4 separate regions of the Homo sapiens genome follow, and regions 1, 3 and 4 are each linked to region 2. Evidence: promoter capture Hi-C in human tissues and cell types (Jung and others, 2019). All regions are on one chromosome and are shown on one strand. Each heading gives the region's core, a stretch centred on a gene start or on the middle of the fragment in contact. The rest is flanking DNA. Distances are from core to core; before and after follow the strand shown.

Region 1 (4,176 bases), core at 475-2,974, 590 kb after region 2:
GAGTGCCTTTAACAGTTCTGTGAGGTAGATACCTCCTATTAAAGAAGAGGAAAGCAATGCTTACAGAGGCTAATTAACTTACCAATGATCACTGCCGGTTCCATACCAGGTCGGCCTGATGCCCACGCTTTTCACAAGGGCAGGTATTGCCTTTTGCAAGTAATATTCACCTACTTTTTTAAATTTAGCCACGCATTCTGTTTGGATTCACTTTTGTAATATATCTCCCACCAAAGGATGCTAATGATCTTTCTCAGCACAAGCTCCAGGCACAGCTTTTTGACAACCAGATTATGCTGAGTGGTATATCACCAAAGCTGCACTAAGCCCTCTGGCTTGTGAGGCATCAGACCAGTTTGTATGCTGGTGGGACAAAACTGTGGGAAAATCATTTCCCTTCTATGCCAAATTTCATTTAATTGCTATTGTTTACCTAGTGGGAAAAGACTTATGTTCCACAGCTCAAGAAAATCAATCCTACTTCAATACAGTGACTTAACCTGGAGTTACATTAGCTTAATGAAAAAAAGGCCTGGCTGAAATATAAAATCAAGAAATCAACTATAATTTAGCTAATATAATGTAACAATAAAAATTCTTCCAGAAGATTAATCTTCCCCAAAGCTCTAATCAATTCTTAAAATCATCAGTCCAAATCAGTAAGTCAGTGGCATAATAAGCATTATAATCTTAACATTTTCAAAGAAGAAAATTGAAAGAGTGAATAAAGTAATTTCATTCTGTCCTAAATTTTATTCAAAGAAAGAACATAACACAAAACCTGAAACTACCAGCTTCTTTCCTCAAATTTTACCTATTCATTGAAACTGATACAGCTCATCCATGATATCAGCATGGGAAACCACATCACATATTATTTGGAAATACATAAATGAGTATTGTTCCCATTGCAAAACTTAGAGATTTGCGTTCCTCCCTTTCATAACTTACCATAGTTCATCCAGCATGGAGCCAGCCTCCCTGGTTCAAGTCTCAAGGCTGTCATTTACCAGCTTAACATATAAGATCTCCAGTGCCTCAGTTTCCTCAGTTTTAGAAAGACGACAATAGAATGTACTTCATAAGATTGTTTGAGTGCTAATACATAAAAAGCAATTAAAACCGTGTCTGGCCCGTAGTTAAGAGTTTATGTCCTGTATTCATAAAGAAACAGTGGCTGTTTACATCATCCTTACTTTTAAATTTGTCACTATTTTTGTTAATATTTTTAGGATTGATGATATATTATTTTTTGGCTTTTAAAAATATGTTTGGGCTGAGTGCAGTGGCTCACGCCTGTAATCCCAACACTTTGGGAGGCCGAGGCCAGTAGACCACGAGGTGAAGAGATCGAGACCATCCTGGCCAACATGGTGAAACCCCGGCTCTACTAAAAATACAAAACTTAGCTGGGCGTGGTGGTGGGCACCTGTAATCCCAGCTACTTGAATCCGGCAGGCGGAGGGTGCAGTGAGCCGAGATTGCACCTCTGCATTCCAGCCTGGCAACAGAGCGAGAATCCATCTCAAAAAATATATATATGTTTGTTATACTGATTCATTTGTTCTGATTGACAGTTTTCTGTTAAACTGTGTCTTACTTTATTTGAAGAATGTTTATGATCTATCATCTTCCAGCGAGATGTTCTGTTAGCTTCTAAGTAAGAAGCTTAGAATTCTGCAAAACATTTTCAGAGAGGGTGCATAAAAATAATGCTTTATTGCATGACTTTTTTTTTTTTTTTTTTTTTTTTGGTGGCAGCAAATATGTTGAGAATTCTAAGATGCTCTTTCCTTCAGTGGTTATCTAAAAAGTGTTAAACTGTGAGCATCTGCCTGGCATGCAAACTTCATGTTTTACTGTTGTGATTATCCCAGGCAGCAGATCACAGGTATGTTTACCTTCAACAGACTTAGTCCCTTAATTTCTTCCCTGTCCTCCTTTTCCTTCTTCCCCAGTCTGCTGAATTCCTGTCTGCTATGAAGAGTGGTGACAAATACTAATCTGAACTAGACCACAGTCATATAAAGTCAGATTGAGGACTTGGCCTTGTATCAAACCTGAAGTGGAGGGGAAGGGTGGAAACTGCTGTCTTGTAAATAGCCACCCAGGGCGTAAGCCCTGAAAACATGTAAATATCACTATGTCCCATATGCATTATTTCTCAATTTTGTCATGCTACCTTTGCCAGCTAGTTTAACTGAGTATGATTTACAGTTATTTTATTGAACATTTTTTGACAATTTGAGTACAGTTCTGGATGTAATATTAAATCCTCTTCTGGCTCAGCAGATTGCAAAATTGCACGTTCTGTCTACACATCAAATCCTAGGTCTGGAGGGGAATTGCAGACTTTACCTAGTCCAGTACATCCAGAAAATACTGCGTTTGAGCTTTTCCATAGCAGATGGTATTTCACCCTATCCTAAATGACATCCAAACAAGAAGATTGATGATATGATTAAAGACTGTGAAGAAAGGTTAAAATTAAGCTTGGCTTCTGTTTCTTTTAAATTCATAAAATTTTTTCTTCTTCAAGGATCTCTAGCCAATTCCAATGGCTGAGCCAATAAGTTTAATCATACCTTTATGACTGAAGAGGAAACTAAATATGGTAAATAAATGTTAACAATTTAGTTCTAAATTGTTTGTGTCAACTTTATATATCAGGTTTGAGATTGATCAGTTTTTTAATCTATCTGGAATCTGGTGTTGAAAAGTCCCAGAAATAAAAGCTATTCTAAAGAAGTTTCAGAAAATCAACTCAATTCTTGTAACCTTCATACCCGAAGACTGAGTAATTTATAAAGAAAAAGGTTTAGTAGACTCACAGTTCCACACGCCTGGGGAGGCCTCACAATGATGGCAGAAGACAAAGGAAGAGCAACGGGACTTCTCACATGGCAGTGGGCAGTAGAGTGTGTGCAGGGGAACTCCCCTTTATAAACCCATCAGATCTCAAGAGATTTATTTATTCACTATCGCAAGAACAGCACAGGAAAGACTTCCCACAGGGTCCCTCCCACAACATGTGGGAATTATGGGAGCTACAATTCAAGATGAGATTTGAGTGGGGACACAACCAAACCATATCACTCTTTTATAGATATTTTGCTATGACCAGAAACCAAAGCTTTGCCTACATGAGTTTACATTATAATTACATTACATTATAATATTTTTCTAAGAATTCCAAGAAAAAAGTGTAAATGGTCCAAGGAAGGAAAATTTGCTTTTTGTCAAACTCCCATTTGTTGAATATGATATATTTAGCAATAAAATGAATATTTGGCTCAGAACAATACATTCTAATCAGCTTTCCATTGAACATGCCATCATCACAGTTTCTGTAATTATTTAGAATTCTTTATTGAGCTATAATTGACAAAGGAAAGATAGATTGCATTAAAATACTAGATACATGGCATTTAAAAGTTGTTTTAAAATAAGTTCCCCTTGATTTTAACGTAAGCTTTGGTTAGGTTAAATAAAATGTTTTCAAACTCAGAGTTCCCCTCTGTAATCAGCATCTAAGATCTGATGTTACTTATTATTACTAAGGAGTTTCTTCAACAATTCATTTTTTATGATTTCTCCACCTTAAAGGCTTATGATACTGTTATGAATTTCATAACATTATGAGATCTCTGCTTCTGGGACAGAAGGATAGATTGATCCTATTTCCCTACTCCATGGCAGGTAGGTGGAGCAATGCCACGAGCACTGTGGGGCTGCAGGCAGAGTGATGTGTATCATGCCAAGCCAAACCATTTATTTACTGCTGCCAGACCCTCCAACCCAGAGCTCTCCCTCTGGGTGACAGTGGAAGAGGCCTTTTGTTGAGATTGTGGAGACACAAGATCAAAACAGCATCACTGAGTTACCACATGAAGTACAGTTACCTTAGAGGGTCTCCTATATCTACAAATGGTTATAATTGAAAAATCAACCCTTTTTGGGGTAAGTCACCGAGAACTGGGAGTTTTCTATTATTATAGCATAACCTGATCTGTCTTATAACTACAAAAGATAAAGCAAACCTCAGGAGAACATCTGGCCTCTTTACATTACCATTCCTTCAGAATCTCTAGAGACCCACCTAAATCTTGTTGTTCCAAAGATCACATCAACCTCAACAACAATGATTATTTTTTCAATCTAATGTTTATATGCACT
Region 2 (4,651 bases), core at 1,439-3,938:
CTTCCGGAAAGTTGATTCCACACACCCTGAGAACAAGTTTCAAGTGCGTGTGTCGTCGATCAGGAGGGCCAGGTGGCGGCGAGGGCGGGTCGTTAGTGGCAGCCGGAGCGGCAGGGAGGCGGCAGCCCCGCTTCACGGGCGGGGAGACATGCTGGCCGGGCGGCGCAGGTTGGAGGCGAGTTGAAAACCGAGCGGAGGAATGTTCACACGCTCCGAGGCAAACCTGCCGGAGAAGTGAGCTAGTCGCAAAGAGGTGGCGCCCTAGGAACGCGCGCGGGGCGAGCGAGGGCGCAGGCGGGCTGGCGGGCGGGCGCGCGGGGGGCGGGGGCGGCGACGGGCGGCCCGAACGGGCCCCGCGCCGCCCGAGCGAGTGGAGGGGAGCCCCGAGCCGGGAATGAGCGGCGAGCGGCGGAGCTCCCCCCTCCCGCGCTGCCGACCCCGGAGCTGTCAGGAGCTCTGCCGAGCCCCACCCCGGAGCCCGGGCCCTGTCGCGCCATCCCCGTGCCGGGGGCGTGGGCGCATCCGCTTGCTCCCTCCAGGCCCGGCCGGCTCCTGCCGGCGCGGCGGATCCGGGAGCCGAGATCCCCGAGGGCGTGCGGACTGCCCCGGGCAGCCGGCGGTCCCCGGCGCGCCGAGCTGGACGAGCGGGCGCCAAGACCACCAGGGGCGGACCGACGAGGAGGAGGCCAAGGAGCTGGGCCGGGGACCGCGGGCAACCGGGAGCCTGCGCGGAGAGGACGCGGGCTGTTGGCCTGTGAATTTAAGGAGCCCGAAGCTCGCCTGGCAGCTCGGGGCGATGCATGAGAACCTTCCTCCCTGGCCCATTCCCGGGATGAACTGAGTGGGGAGCATCGGCTAGAGAGAGGGAGATCTTTTGCTTAGAAGAACAAAAACAGTTCCAGATTTCATATCTAAATTGCACTTTTTGCTGTTTCAGAACTGCTGGGAGACATCTGGAGCCGGTCCCAAAAAACCCGCGCACAGGAGAGATCCCCCTTTTGAATTGCAGAGGGGGACCGACACTCCTGGAGCACGCACACGGCCCTTTTCACTCATGGTCGGGAGTCTAACCCATCCTTTCTCTGATACCCTACCTGCTTGTCCCCTCCCCCTCAAAAGTCCCAGGTTACAGATTCTTGGAAGACTGTATCCGAGTCGCTGCAGCCAGCGGACAGATGCAGTGGAACTATGGTTATGTGCTGCTCTGCCTGGGAGAAGCGACGGGAAAGCCGAGGTTCTTTCCAAAGCTAATGGGCGGGGAAGAAAGACTGCTCGGAATTACTGGGTAGTATCATCTAGGAAAGGATTGCAGCGGGAGTGGATACCCTCCCCAGGGCTCCTCTAACTTTTTGAAAAGAGCGCGAGTGGACTGGGAACCATTCAAGGGATATTTGTCTTCTAGGCAATCCTGCTGGTAGGGTTCATTAGTTTCTAGAAGGCTAGTGTGATTTAGATTCTTGAGATGATTCAAGGAATGTGGCCTTTATCAAGCCCGACTTTCCGGGTGATGCTCCACATATTTTACCCAGGGTGGGAGAAATAGCACGCTGTCACCGAGACCCTCGCTCATCGGGGCTCCCACTGGTTCACTGCAGCTAGCTAGCAGTTAAAGTTTACTGCTTAGGTTGGGTGGGGGGGCATATTTTCTTAGAAGCTCCTGCCTTCCTCAGTTCATTACTGTAAACCCCGTACCTTAAAAGACTCGGCTTCTTCTCACTAACAAAGAAAAAAAGCAAAACAAAACCAAAACACACACACGCACACACACACACTCTCTCTCTGGGAATTTCCACAACTTCCCTTGAATGTGTAAGGATTTCTAAATGTTAGACTTGTTTGGATAGTATGAAAGGACAAAGTATCAGCACTCAGAAATGTCAACCTTTGAACCTCGAACACTTTCTGATTTATAAAAAGAATCCTTCCAAAAAGATGCAGGAGCCCTAATGTAATCGTTAGATCTGAAGGGGGAAATCTGTAAAAAAAAAAAAAAAAAAAAAAAAAAAGTCAATCACAAATGAGCCATTTAATACTTGCAAGTTGTTTAACATTGAAATGATAATATTTGCTTCCACAATAAAAAGTCCAAGGTACCTAGCCAAGTTTCAAACTATCCAGGCTTTAAAAAGTCAACCCTTCTCCCAATAGAAGGTTAAAACAAAAATCAGATTGAAATTATCAAATCACTTATGTTGTAAATAAATTCACTTTACTTTCAGAACATTATAAATTAAGGACTGGCATCAATAGACTGCTTTGATTTATGTTGCTTTTTCTACTAATTAAACAAAATTAACCCCCCACTCCTTCCCTCCTTTCTTTTTCCCCACACACTTTTCTGGTGTTAATGGCAAAACATCTATCAAATATTTTTAGAATTTCCTCTCCTCCACAAAAAGAGAAAATATAGACACAGGAAAAATAAATAGTCTTTATATACTCGGAATACCAAAGTTCCCTCCTAATTTATTACTTCACCTTTTCCTTGATTTACAATCTTCTCTCTGCTCTTCTGGCTGAAAGAGGGAAATCTTCTCAGCAGTCTTTTCCAGAAATATTTTTTGTTGTTCTTCAGAAAACATAAAATTAAATCTTAAAATGAATTAAAAGCTTCTTGAAAGGAGACTTCTGTTCCCACTAAAGGCAATTATTAGAAAGCAGGTACCTCTTCCAAGCTGCCCTGTTTATTACTTTCCGTAGAAATTCTCCTCAATATATACCCAGGACCCTGACTTTTTGCCTGTTTTGGAAAGGATATTTTCTGACATCATAATCTAGTTCCTAACATAACTGAGTAATCTCCATCATAATAATGCAGAGGATGCATGACTGCAAATGAGACACAGCAAGAGCACCCCCTACCACCTCCCTCCCCCCCCCGTCCCCCCAGCCCACACACACACCTTTTTTCTAAGGTTTAGAAATAGAACAAGTGCCAATAGAAGCTAAATGTTTGCTTAGGCCTTGCTGTCATGTAAATGCACCTTAGCAAATGGGAAGGCCTGCCTCTAATCTGAAGTATTTCCATGTTTAGCATTATAAGATCTACACCTACACAAATGCCTAGCCCATGAGCACCAGGCTTCCATCTTCCCATCCCCAGTGGCAGTTTATTACAGTATATCAAATTTTAAAAGAGGTTGAAAAAATTTTAAATGCATTACTCTTAAATTCAGTTGAATACCCAGTTAATGTATATCTCCTGTCATAGCTTAGAAAAAAGTAAATAGCATTTATGCTTAGCCTCTTCATCCTTCTTTCTTCTTTCCTCCTTAACCCAAACAGCAAACAGATATACATTATAAACCAAATATGAATCTATAGCACTTTAAACAGTGCACCTGGGCTTGGGAATTCTCTTATTACCAATAAGCATCCAGATTTCACATTTACCAATCTGTAGCTGCAAGCTATGTCTCTAAAATCCCCTGGAACCAAACAACTAAACTCATCCCATCTCTTCTCCAAACTTTTTTCAATGTTTACAAAGAGACGTTGCATAATCAGCTCAAGTAATGCTCTCATTGGATTCCATTAGAATGTGGCTCTCATCGCTCGCCTGGACTGAGACTTGAGAGGAGGCTGTTGCCAGCTGACCTCAAGGTAGCAAAAAAGAAAAAAAGATGTAATGCCTTCAAACCCCAAGTAACAATAGGAAAGGGTGTGTTTCTTTATTAAATCTTTTTGTAGTTAGGTGAGGATAAGACTTCTCCAGGAACAGGGCGGGCTGCTAACCTCTGGAGGAACTGCCTCAGGGAGGAGTGTATAGATATGCATCAAGCTGATGGGATCCTCCCATGGGAAAAGTGGGCCTCACACCCTTCCTCACCCTTCCCTACTTCCTGGGCAATGTTCTGCTTCCCCCAAACTGAAGCAGGAGGCCCAGAGAGGAGGCGGTTTCCTGGGAGGAACCCAAACCAATGTGAGATGAGAAGGTCTTTAGGAAATGGGGGTCTCTGAGAACCGGTTCTTAAAGGTCAAGCACTTGAGCACCTCGCAAACTCCTGACAATTGAAACATATCTGAAGAGTCTTCTTCAGATATGTCTCTGTGTGTGTGTGTGTGTGTGTGTGTGTGTGTGTGTGAGAGAGAGAGAGAGAGAGAGAGAGAGAGAATATGAATGTGCAGTGTCCCAGTCCTGATCTCCTGGACTGGTGCCAGCCAGCCAGATGCCTGCCCTTGGCTGGCCAAGTTTTTGGCTCCTGAAAGTAGGCAGCTCTGGACTTGTACGAGGCCACAGAGAGAGTTCCAAGCCCCACCTGGCTCAGGCGACAACCTCTCAACCTGAAGTCAATCTCCGGTGGCATCACAGGGCCCTCCTGGCAGCAGCCCAGTTCCCCACATGAACCGAATGGTCCTTTCTTAAATTTTGAGCCGGGGGCTGCCTAAAAGGGGCTGCCCCCGCAAGCATTTTACCTCCCTAACACCATTCTCTGCCCGTGCCACGCTGGCCTCGAAGTCCCTTCCCAGGGCAGCACCCGGACTGAGATGTCTAAACTCTCCGGCAGGAAGGATACCTATCCAGACACCCGCACTGGATGTCCTGTCTGTTTGGCTTTGAGCTGGTCATTACGGTGTCTTTGGATCCTGCCTAACTTTTCTGTAATTTTTATCAGAAATAAGGCTTCAGGAGAGCAAACGTTGAGTTATG
Region 3 (4,698 bases), core at 478-2,977, 550 kb after region 2:
TGGATTCAGTTAGCTAGTATTTTGTTGAGGTTTTTTGCATATCTGTTCAACAGGGATATTGGTCGGTAGTTTTCTTTTTTGGTTGTATCCTTTCCTGATTTAGATATTAGGGTGATACTGGCTTCATAGAATGATTTAGGGAGGCGTCCCTCTTTTTCTGTCTTGTAGAATAGTGTCAATAGGATTGGTAACAGTTCTTTTTTAATGTCTGGTATAAAGCTGTTGTGAATGCGTCTGGTCCTGGACTTGTTTTGTTGGTAATTTTTTATTACCCTTTCAGTCTCACTGCTTTTTATTGGTCTGTTCTAAGTATCTAATTCTTCTTGATTTAAGATAGGAGTGTTTGTCTTTCCAGGAATTTATCCATCTCCTCTAGGTTTTCTGGTTTATGCACATAAAGGTGTTCATAGTAGCTTTGAATGATGTTTAGTATTTCTGTGATGTCAGTTGTAATATCTCCCATTTCATTTCTAATTGAGCTTAGTTGGATGTTCTCTCTTCTTTTCTTGGTTAATCTTGCTAATGGTAATTCAATTTTATTTATCGTTTCAAAGAACCAGCTTTTTGTTTCATGTATCTTTTGTATTGTTTTTTGTTTGTTTCAGTTTCACTTGGTTCTGCTCACATTTCGGTTATTTCCTTTCTTCTGCTGGGTTTGGGTTTGGTTTGTTCTTACTTCTCTAGTTCCTTGAGGTGTGACTTTAGATTATCTGTTTGTGCTCTTTCAGACTCTTTGATATAGGCGTTTAGGGCTGTAAACTTTCCTCCTAGCACCACCTTTGCTGTATCCCAGAGGTATTGATAGGTTGTGTCACTATTGTCATTCAGTTCGAAGAGTTTTTAATTTCCATCATGATTTCATTGTTAGCCCAATGATCATTCGGGAGCAAGTCATTTAATTTCCATGTATTTGCATGGTTTTGAAGGTTCCTTTTGGAGTTGATTTCCAGTTTTATTCCACTGTGGTCTGAGAGAGTGCTTGATATAATTTCAATTTTCTTAAATTTATTGAGGCTTGTTTTGTGGCCTGTCATATGGTCTATCTTGGAGAAAGTTCCATGCACTGTTGATTAGAATGTATATTCTGTGGTTGTTGGGTAGAACGTTCTGTAAATATCTGTTAAGTCTACTTGTTCCAGGGTATAGTTTAAATGCATTGTTATTTTGTTGGCTTTCTGTCTTGATGACCTGTCTCGTGCTGTCAGTGTAGTATTTAAGTCCCCCCACTATTATTATGTTGCTGTCTATCTCATTTCTTAGGTCTATTAGTAATTGTTTTATAAATTTGGGATCTCCCAAATTTATATATTTATGATTCTGATACTTCCCTGTTGGACAAAGCCTTTTATTGTTATATAATGTCCCTCTTTGTCTTTTTTAACTGCTGTTTTTAAAGTTTGTTTTATGTGATATAGGAATAGCTACTCCTGCTCACTTTCGGTGTCCATTTGCATGGAATGTTGTTTTCCATCCCTTTACCTTAAGTTTGTGTGAGTCCATATGTGTTAGGTGTGTCTCGAAGGCAGCAGATATTTAGTTGATGAATTCTTATCTATTCGGCAATTTTGTATCTTTTAAGTGGAGCATTTAGGCCATTTATGTTCAATGTTAGTATTGAGATGTGAGGTACTATTCCATTCATCATGCTATTTGTTGCCTGTATACCTTGGTTTTTTTTTTTTTAATTGTATTTTTGTTTTATAGGTCCTGTGAGATTTATGCTTTAAAGAGGTTCTGTTTTGATGTGTTTCCAGAATTTGTTTCAAGATTTAGAGCTCCTTTTAGCAGTTCTTGTAGTGCTGGCTTGGTAGTGGCAAATTTTCTCAGCATATGTTTGTTTGTCTGAAAAAGACTGTATCTTTCCTTCATTTATGAAGCTTAGTTTTGCTGGGTACAAAATTCTTGGCTGATAATTGTTTTGTTTGAGGAGGCTAAAGATAGGGCCCCAATCCTTCTAGCCTGTAGGGTTTCTGCTGAGAAATCTATTGTTAATCTGATTGGTTTTCCTTTATAGGTTACCTGGTGTTTTTGCCTCACAGCTCTTAAAATTCTGTCCTCCATCTTAACTTTAGATAACCTGTTGACAGTGTGCCTAGGTGATTATCTTTTTATGATGAATTTCCCAGGTGTTGTTTGAGCCTCCTGTATTTGGATGTCTAGGTTTCTAGCAAGGCTGGGGAACTTTTCCTCAATTATTCCCCCAAATATATTTTCTAAACTTTTAGTTTTCTCTTCCTCCTCAGGAACACCGATTATTCTTAGGTTTGGCCATTTAACATAATCCCAGACTTCTTGGAGTCTTTGTTCATATTTTCTTATTCTTTTTTCTTTGTCTTTGTTGGATTGGGTTAATTTGAAAACTTTATCTTCAAGCTCTGAAGTTCTTTCTTCTGCTTGTTCAATTCTATTGCTGAGATTTTCCAGAGCATTTTGTATTTCTATAAGTGTGTCCATCATTTCCTGAAGGTTTAATTGTTTATTATTTATGCTATTTATTTCCTTGAATAGTTCTCCTTTCACTTCTTGTATTATATTTTGGATTTCCTTACATTGGACTTTGCCTTTCTCTGGTGCCTCCCTTATTAGCTTAATAACTAACTGTCTGAATTCTTTTTCAGGTAAATCAGGGATTTCTTCTTGGTCTGGATTCATATTTGGTGAGCTAGTGTGATTTTTAGGGGGTGTTAAAGAACCTTGTTTTTTCCCATTACCAGGGTTGGTTTTCTGGTTTCTTATTTGGATAGGCTCTGTCAGAAGAAGGTCTAGGGCTCAAGGCTCTTGTTCAGATTATTTTGTCCCACGGGATACTCCCTTGATGTAATACTCTTCTCCTTTCCTAGGGATGGGGGTTCCCGAGAGCTGAGCTGTAATGATTGTTATCTCTCTTCTGGATATAGCCACCTAGCAAATGTATCAGACTCTGGGCTAGTACTGGAGGTTGTCTGCACAGAGTCCTGTGATGTGAACCATCTTTGGGTCTCTCAGCCATGGATACGAGCACCTGCTCGGGTGGCAGTGGCAGGGGAGTGAAATGGACTCTGAGTGTTCTTAGCTTTGGTTGATTAGTGTGCTATTTTTGTGCTGGTTGACCTGCTGGGAAGTGGCACTTGCAAGAGAGCATCAGCTATGGGAGTATGGGGGGGGAACATTTGGTAGGTGGGGCCCCATAACTCCCAAGAGTATATGCCCATTGTCTTCAGTTACCAGGGTGGTAGGAAAGGACCATTAGATGGTGGCAGGGCTAGGCATGCCTGGGCTTGGACTCTACTTGGGCAGGTCTTGCTGCAACTGCTGTGGGAGATGGGGGTGAGGTTCCCACGTCAGTGGAATTATGTTCCTAGGAGGATTATGGCTGCCTCTGTTGTGTCATGCAGGTTGCCAGGAAACTGGGGGAAAGACAGGAGTCACAGGCCTCACTCAGCTCCCGTCTAACCCAAATGGCTGGTCTCACTCCCACTGTGCCCCCCCGCCAAGAGCACCAAGTCTGTTTCCAGGCAGTGAGTGAGCAGGGCTAAGAACTTGCCCCATGTTACCCACCTCCCAGCTGTGAAAGTAAGCAGGGCTTTCCTTCTCCCCCCACCTGTGGAGTCTGCACGCTGGATTCATGCCCTCTTCAGAGTTCTGGCCAGGAGACTTCTCAATCGGTTCAAATTGTTGCAAAGTTCCACTGGAGGTTTCCTTCTCCCTGTGGTTTTTTTCCCAGTGCCTCTGGCAGCCCTCCTCAAGGGCCCCTGTGAGGCAAGGCAGAAAATGCCTTGCTAGGGGACCCTAGCAAGCCCACAGGGGGACCCTAGAGCAAGCCCACAGGGCTTTGCATGTTGCTTCCTCTACCTCTGTATTTCCCTTGGCTCTCTAAATTGACTCAGTTCCAGTTAAGGTTAGAATCTTTTCCCATCATCTAGAGCTTCAGGTTCCCCAGTGTGGGGGTGTATTCTGGGGCAGACGATCTCCCTTTCCTGCTTCCACAGTTTGGGCACCCACAGTATTTGGGGTGTCTCCCAGGTCCTGCAGGAGCAATCCACTTCCTTCAGAGGGTCTGTGGGTTCTCTTGGCTTTCCTAACGTTTTCTTGCACTGGTTCTGGAGCAAAAGTTCATGATGCAAGCCTCCATATGATGTTCTGTACGTCCAAGTGGGGGCTGCAATCTAGTCCTGCCTCCCGTCTGCCATGATCTGTTTCACCCCACTGAAGGTTTTTGAGCAGGAGTGGCTGAGTCTCATATTTGTGACTTACCCAGAGGATGGTTTAGGGGTTTTTATGTTTGTTTTTTTAGAGACAGTGTCTTGCCCTGTCACTCAGGCTGGGCGATCTTAGCTCACTCGAGTTTTATTTTTTGATATTTTCAAAAGTATAAACAACTTAAATGTCTATCAATCGGAAACTAGTTAAATGAACTATGTTACTGTGGAATACTATGCATCCATTAAAAGAATGATATTTATCTATATTTGTTGATATGGTTGCAAAATCACCTGAATCATATGATCCTATTGAAATATATTTTGCTATATCTGTTTCTATGTATATGTATGTATGTATATATATATAAAAGTATATTTAAATAAGCAAAGGAAAGATGATTGATGCTTTTCTGTGAGAGGTTGGATTGTGAGAGATTATGCTTCCTACTTTGTACTTCTTTATTTAAACATATGACATACTGATTATGTCTTACCTCTAAAAAGAGAAAAACAATTT
Region 4 (4,516 bases), core at 1,426-3,925, 600 kb after region 2:
ATAAAAACTTGAGGAAGGGTCTACCTCTGCCTCTGGAAGCTTATAATCTGTGGTATAGCCAAGTAACAAAGGATTTCAGAACAGTGTGCTGGGTGCTGCCATGGGGATAGCCACAGGGTGCTGGGGGAACAGGCAATAGTGATACCCAACTTGGTCTCGGGAGAATCAGGGAAGGTTTTCTGCATGGGAGGGTGGTGTTCAAGTGATACCTGAGTAGAGGCTGTCCATGCAAAAAAGTGGAAAATATCATGGCAAGCTTCCAGAGATGAGAAAGTTTGGGATCACCGACTAGTTCCATGCATCTGGAGCATAGAGTGGAAGTAGCTGAGTACTGAAATCCAAAGACGGGGATGAAAGCAGAGACTGGATTAAAAATCCCTGAGAGCCAAGATATCAAGTAGGTAAGGGGCAGAGGTCAAAATAAATGGATCCAGCCAGTCTGAGGAAGATTCACCTACACCAATGCTGCAGTCTGAAGCTGGATAAGAAGAAGGGAAGGAAATAAACATTTTTGAGTGTGTACCATATACCAGACCCTGTGCATCACCTAATCAAATTATCACACAAAGCTTTTAGGGGGTATAATTGTCACCATTTCATGGCTGAAAAACATGGCCTCAAAAGATAGCATGATGGGTATCACACAGCTTTTGAGTAGTAGGTCTGGGATTCAAATTCAGGTCTAATTCCAAAGCCTGTGTTCTTTCTGACCATAGCAATGACTCCAGAGCAACAGGCCAGCGAAGAGAGGGCAGGCTTTAATGAATGAGATAGAAGCTACAGTGAGTCAGACTTGGGCTTCAGGTAACCACATGGAGGCAGGGTAACAGCTGGCACAAGACTTCCAGGAAATGGGCAATGTTTGGAAAGATATGTTGACAAACTGCCCAGGCTGTGGGGCATGAGGTCCAAAGGTCAAAGTTTAGAAGAATAAAAAGCAAAATCAAATTTCTATGTAGAAGAAGCTAACTAGAAGTTGATATAGAAGCATGAAACTAGACAGAAGAGGGAGGAGTTAGAAGAAGAGACAGGGCCAAGTGCCATGCTGAGAGGCCGAAGCTACAGAAAAAGTGTCCAAGGAGAGAGGCTCCTGGTGATGGGGTGGCTGAAAGACTTTAAAGAATAGAAGTGTCTGATATGTAATCATAGGTTGTTTGGTTGATGTCCTGTAAACTCCAACAATTGCCCCAATTCTCCTGTTAAAATCCATCCCACACATCACATAGCCTTGTGTTTGAGACAGGCTCCCGTAGAATGTCCAAACAGGAAGACGGGGAATGTTCAGTGTGGAGTGACAGGGTACACAGAACAGAGAGCAGGCACAGAAAAGAGAGGGAGCCCGTACATGGAGTGATTAGGCCTCAGCCAGAGGTAGCCAGGAACATTATAAACAACTTGCCCACATGTCAAAGATTAGCAGAGAGTTTGAGAGAGTTGTTAAATGGCTCACCACATAAGGAAGGAGAATGCAAAACAATTTCATTTGAATCCTGAAAGGGCAAGCTGAACTTAGCTGATGTGTGGCTTATGAAAAGAAGATATTGCTAATAGAGCTGATCAAGGATTAAGTAGGCAACCTTGGACAGCAGTTAATTTTCCACCCCTGGGAATGTGTAGGCAAAGAGGACACAGACCCAGACATGGCAGTGGTAGGACAGATTCAGGTGTCAGATGGGGACAGACTGCATAACCCATTGAACTCCCTCCCAACCCTGAGAGTCCAGCCTAGGAAAGCAAGTTTAAGGCTCCCAAATGAATTAAGTATCCAAGCAAATCGGACTTGCATTTGGGAATGCACGTTTGACAAAACTCAGAATGAATGAGTCAATAGGAAATCCACCCAAACAGGTTAAAATTAAAACTGAACCATTAACATCCAAGAGAAGGATAAAGCTGCCTTGCTAGTCGACTTTCTGATTCAATCCAAGATTTCTCATGTGTTTCCTGCTCCTCTTAATGAGTCACTTGGTTTAGACAGTCTAGGATTTGCTTTCAGAGCAGGTGGATAAACTTACCTGTCCCAATGGAGATTTAGGTTTCAACACCTGCTGAAGATGCATCTAACCTGTTGAAGATTTTCTTGCATTTTTAGATTCATGCCCGGACCTAGCCATCCTTTCTCCCAGTTCAGTAGTGATATCCACCAGGCTGGAGGTGTGTTGAAGGAATGAAAGTGCACCAGCTTCAAGAGAAAAGGAAACAAACAAAAGTAGAGCAAGAAAGATTGAGAACAGCAATGTAGGCAGAAAGCTGGTAACAATGAGCTCTCTTCTCTCCATGACCTGGCCAGAAAGAAACAAGCAAATGCTGTTACAACCCCTTAGACTGTGTGCAAGGACAGGGTACACACCAATTGCTAAAGCACATGTTAAAAGGTTAAAATTTTAAACGATTTCCTAGATTTTCTCTTATACTGTGCTCAGAACAATATGTGCAATTTAGAGGAAAAAAAAAACCTAAGTAAATATGATATTCTGCTAATGCTCTTTTATGTGTCAGCCAGGAATGAAGATAGCTTAGGTACATGAAATTCATAGACAAACCATACGTTTTAAAAAAGCAGACTTTATTGGTTGGAATTTCAGCATGAAAGGTATTTCTGCACCCACCCATGGTAGGGCAACAGTCAGAATAGTTAGAAGTCACGAAGGAGGAGGAGGCAGGAAGAACCTACAGCAACCACAGACTAGATCGTCCGCCCTAAGAAATTGACTGTAGACCTCAAATAGTTGCTGATATTTGAAATAAGAATAAAATTTCCCATATGCAACCAGTCTAGGGAGGCATTCTTGGTGACATTTTCAAATTGTCCCATCTGCCACAATCCTCCACTCAGCAGGACTGAACACATCTCCAGGGGTCAAACCCACATGGATTAGATTTGAAAGACCACGAAGTTCAGTTCTTTCTTCAGAATGTCCTCCCTTTGTGGAAACTAGAAGTAAATTAACAACCCCACCTAGTAATTCCAAAAGATAGAATCACATTTAAGCTACCCCTTGGCTTTAGAAATGTTTTTCTTCCAAGAAACTACTTTTGAAATAAGTAAAAAATGTTAAAGCTGACCACTCATCTTTTCATTTTAAGAAGTACTTTTGAATCCTTCCTCCAGGCCACCATGCTAGACATGGAAGATACAAAGATCTATTGATGCCTTTGAATAGCCTAGAGTCTCTTGTTCGTATGAACAAGATTAAGATCCAATAAATTAATCACAAAGTGCAGATGTGCACCCTGAGCCTAAATCTGCCCCCCAGGTATTGGGAAAGGCCTCACAGCAAAGGTGGAGACTGAGCCGAGCAGCTGATGGTGAGTGGGAGTTTATCAGATGACAGACAGGTGAATTGCATTTCAGAAGGAGGGAATAGTATGTTGCAAAGGTACCAAAGAGGGAAAGAGTATGACAGTGGCTTGAGGAGAGTAAGTGGCACCAGGGTCAAGGGAGTGTGTTGCATGCTCTAGTCATGCAAGTGTTTTCCTGGAAAAAGAACAAATGCACTGTGGTAAAATTCAAGTGCATTCCTATACTTAAAATTCAACAGATCTAAAGATAGTAATTCAGAGCAAAAGGAAATTAAAATATTTGAGCAGTTTCTTTGTGACACCTGAAAACAAGTGCCAGGGGATTTATGAGTTATTATCTCTAGAATAGGTCGCTTCATGGGCCTGTAGCCTGCCATCACTCAGGGACCCATGCTGAGAAGCCTCTGCTCTTGGGCAAATGCTCTGCCCTTGCTGTCTTAAAATTCTTTAGTACATTTTGAACAATGAGCCTTGGCTTTTCATATTCCATTTGTCCCCAGAAATTATGCAGCTGAGCCTGAGAACAGAACATTTTCAGATAACTTGAAATAGCTCAGTATTGTATTTAAAGTGGAAAGAGGGAGAAGTGGTAGATGAGGTTGAACATGTAGGCAGTGGCATATATTGAAAGGCCTGGGAGTCTCGCTAAAAATTTAAAATGTACCTGTAGGATATAGAAGGTCATTGAAGAATTTGAGCAAGAAGTAGCATGAAGAGATGTGCTGTTTAGATCACTCTGGTGTAATGAGTCGATAGAGTGGAAATATAACAAAAAGTTTCCCATTTAAAATAAATGCACTTTCCTTGTTTGAATTTCGTTTCTTGGGAATAAAGTTTTGATCCGTCTTAAAAGTCTCTACGAGGAATAATTGCTGTGATTAACTTCCACCTTAGGGTAAATTAAGATAGCAAGATCTGTGAGCTCTCTTGAGAACTGGATGTAGGAAAGGGAGAACAGAAAACAGGAGGCAGAAGGTTCTGTGTATAGATGGGCAGGCCATACAGAAGCCGGGCTTCTGGGGAAAAGCTTAGCCGTCTCTTCATTCTTCACAAGCCTAGCCTGATGACACATAGAGATTTTTTTCTTTTCCCAAAAAATGGCCTTTTGGCATTCTCCCTGCCTGTTTCATTATTGCAGTGTTTCTTGTGTGTTCCCCAGGAAATCAGCATCTCCATCACCTGGAACTTGTTAGACGTGTACTCTCTGCTCCAC

What was found. The method cuts DNA at HindIII sites, captures the fragments that hold promoters and counts their contacts. A contact is called where the count stands out against the background at its distance.
Region 1: a contact is called between a fragment that was not itself captured here and the fragment with the promoter of PTHLH in region 2, in 1 of the 25 tissues and cell types used here (IMR-90 fibroblasts).
Region 3: a contact is called between a fragment that was not itself captured here and the fragment with the promoter of PTHLH in region 2, in 2 of the 25 tissues and cell types used here (hippocampus and mesendoderm cells).
Region 4: a fragment that was not itself captured here is called in contact with the fragment with the promoter of PTHLH in region 2 in 2 of the 25 tissues and cell types used here (IMR-90 fibroblasts and mesendoderm cells).

What each region holds. Positions count from the first base shown.
Region 1 is chr12:28,556,384-28,560,559 of GRCh38, forward strand. No RefSeq gene overlaps it. Among named protein-coding and RNA genes, the nearest start is that of CCDC91, 370 kb to the left of the region's middle. The HindIII fragment of the contact is 3,155 bases long and covers 148-3,302 here.
Region 2 is chr12:27,970,045-27,974,695 of GRCh38, forward strand. PTHLH (parathyroid hormone like hormone) reads right to left here and starts at 2,689. Exons shown (of 6, transcript NM_198965.2): 1 at 2,479-2,689; 2 at 1,883-1,975; 3 at 1-223. The HindIII fragment of the contact is 6,422 bases long and covers 812-4,651 here.
Region 3 is chr12:28,524,488-28,529,185 of GRCh38, forward strand. The region is part of intron 12 of CCDC91 (coiled-coil domain containing 91); the gene reads left to right. Among named protein-coding and RNA genes, the nearest start is that of CCDC91, 340 kb to the left of the region's middle. The HindIII fragment of the contact is 6,651 bases long and covers 1-4,698 here.
Region 4 is chr12:28,574,105-28,578,620 of GRCh38, forward strand. No RefSeq gene overlaps it. Among named protein-coding and RNA genes, the nearest start is that of CCDC91, 390 kb to the left of the region's middle. The HindIII fragment of the contact is 5,057 bases long and covers 148-4,516 here.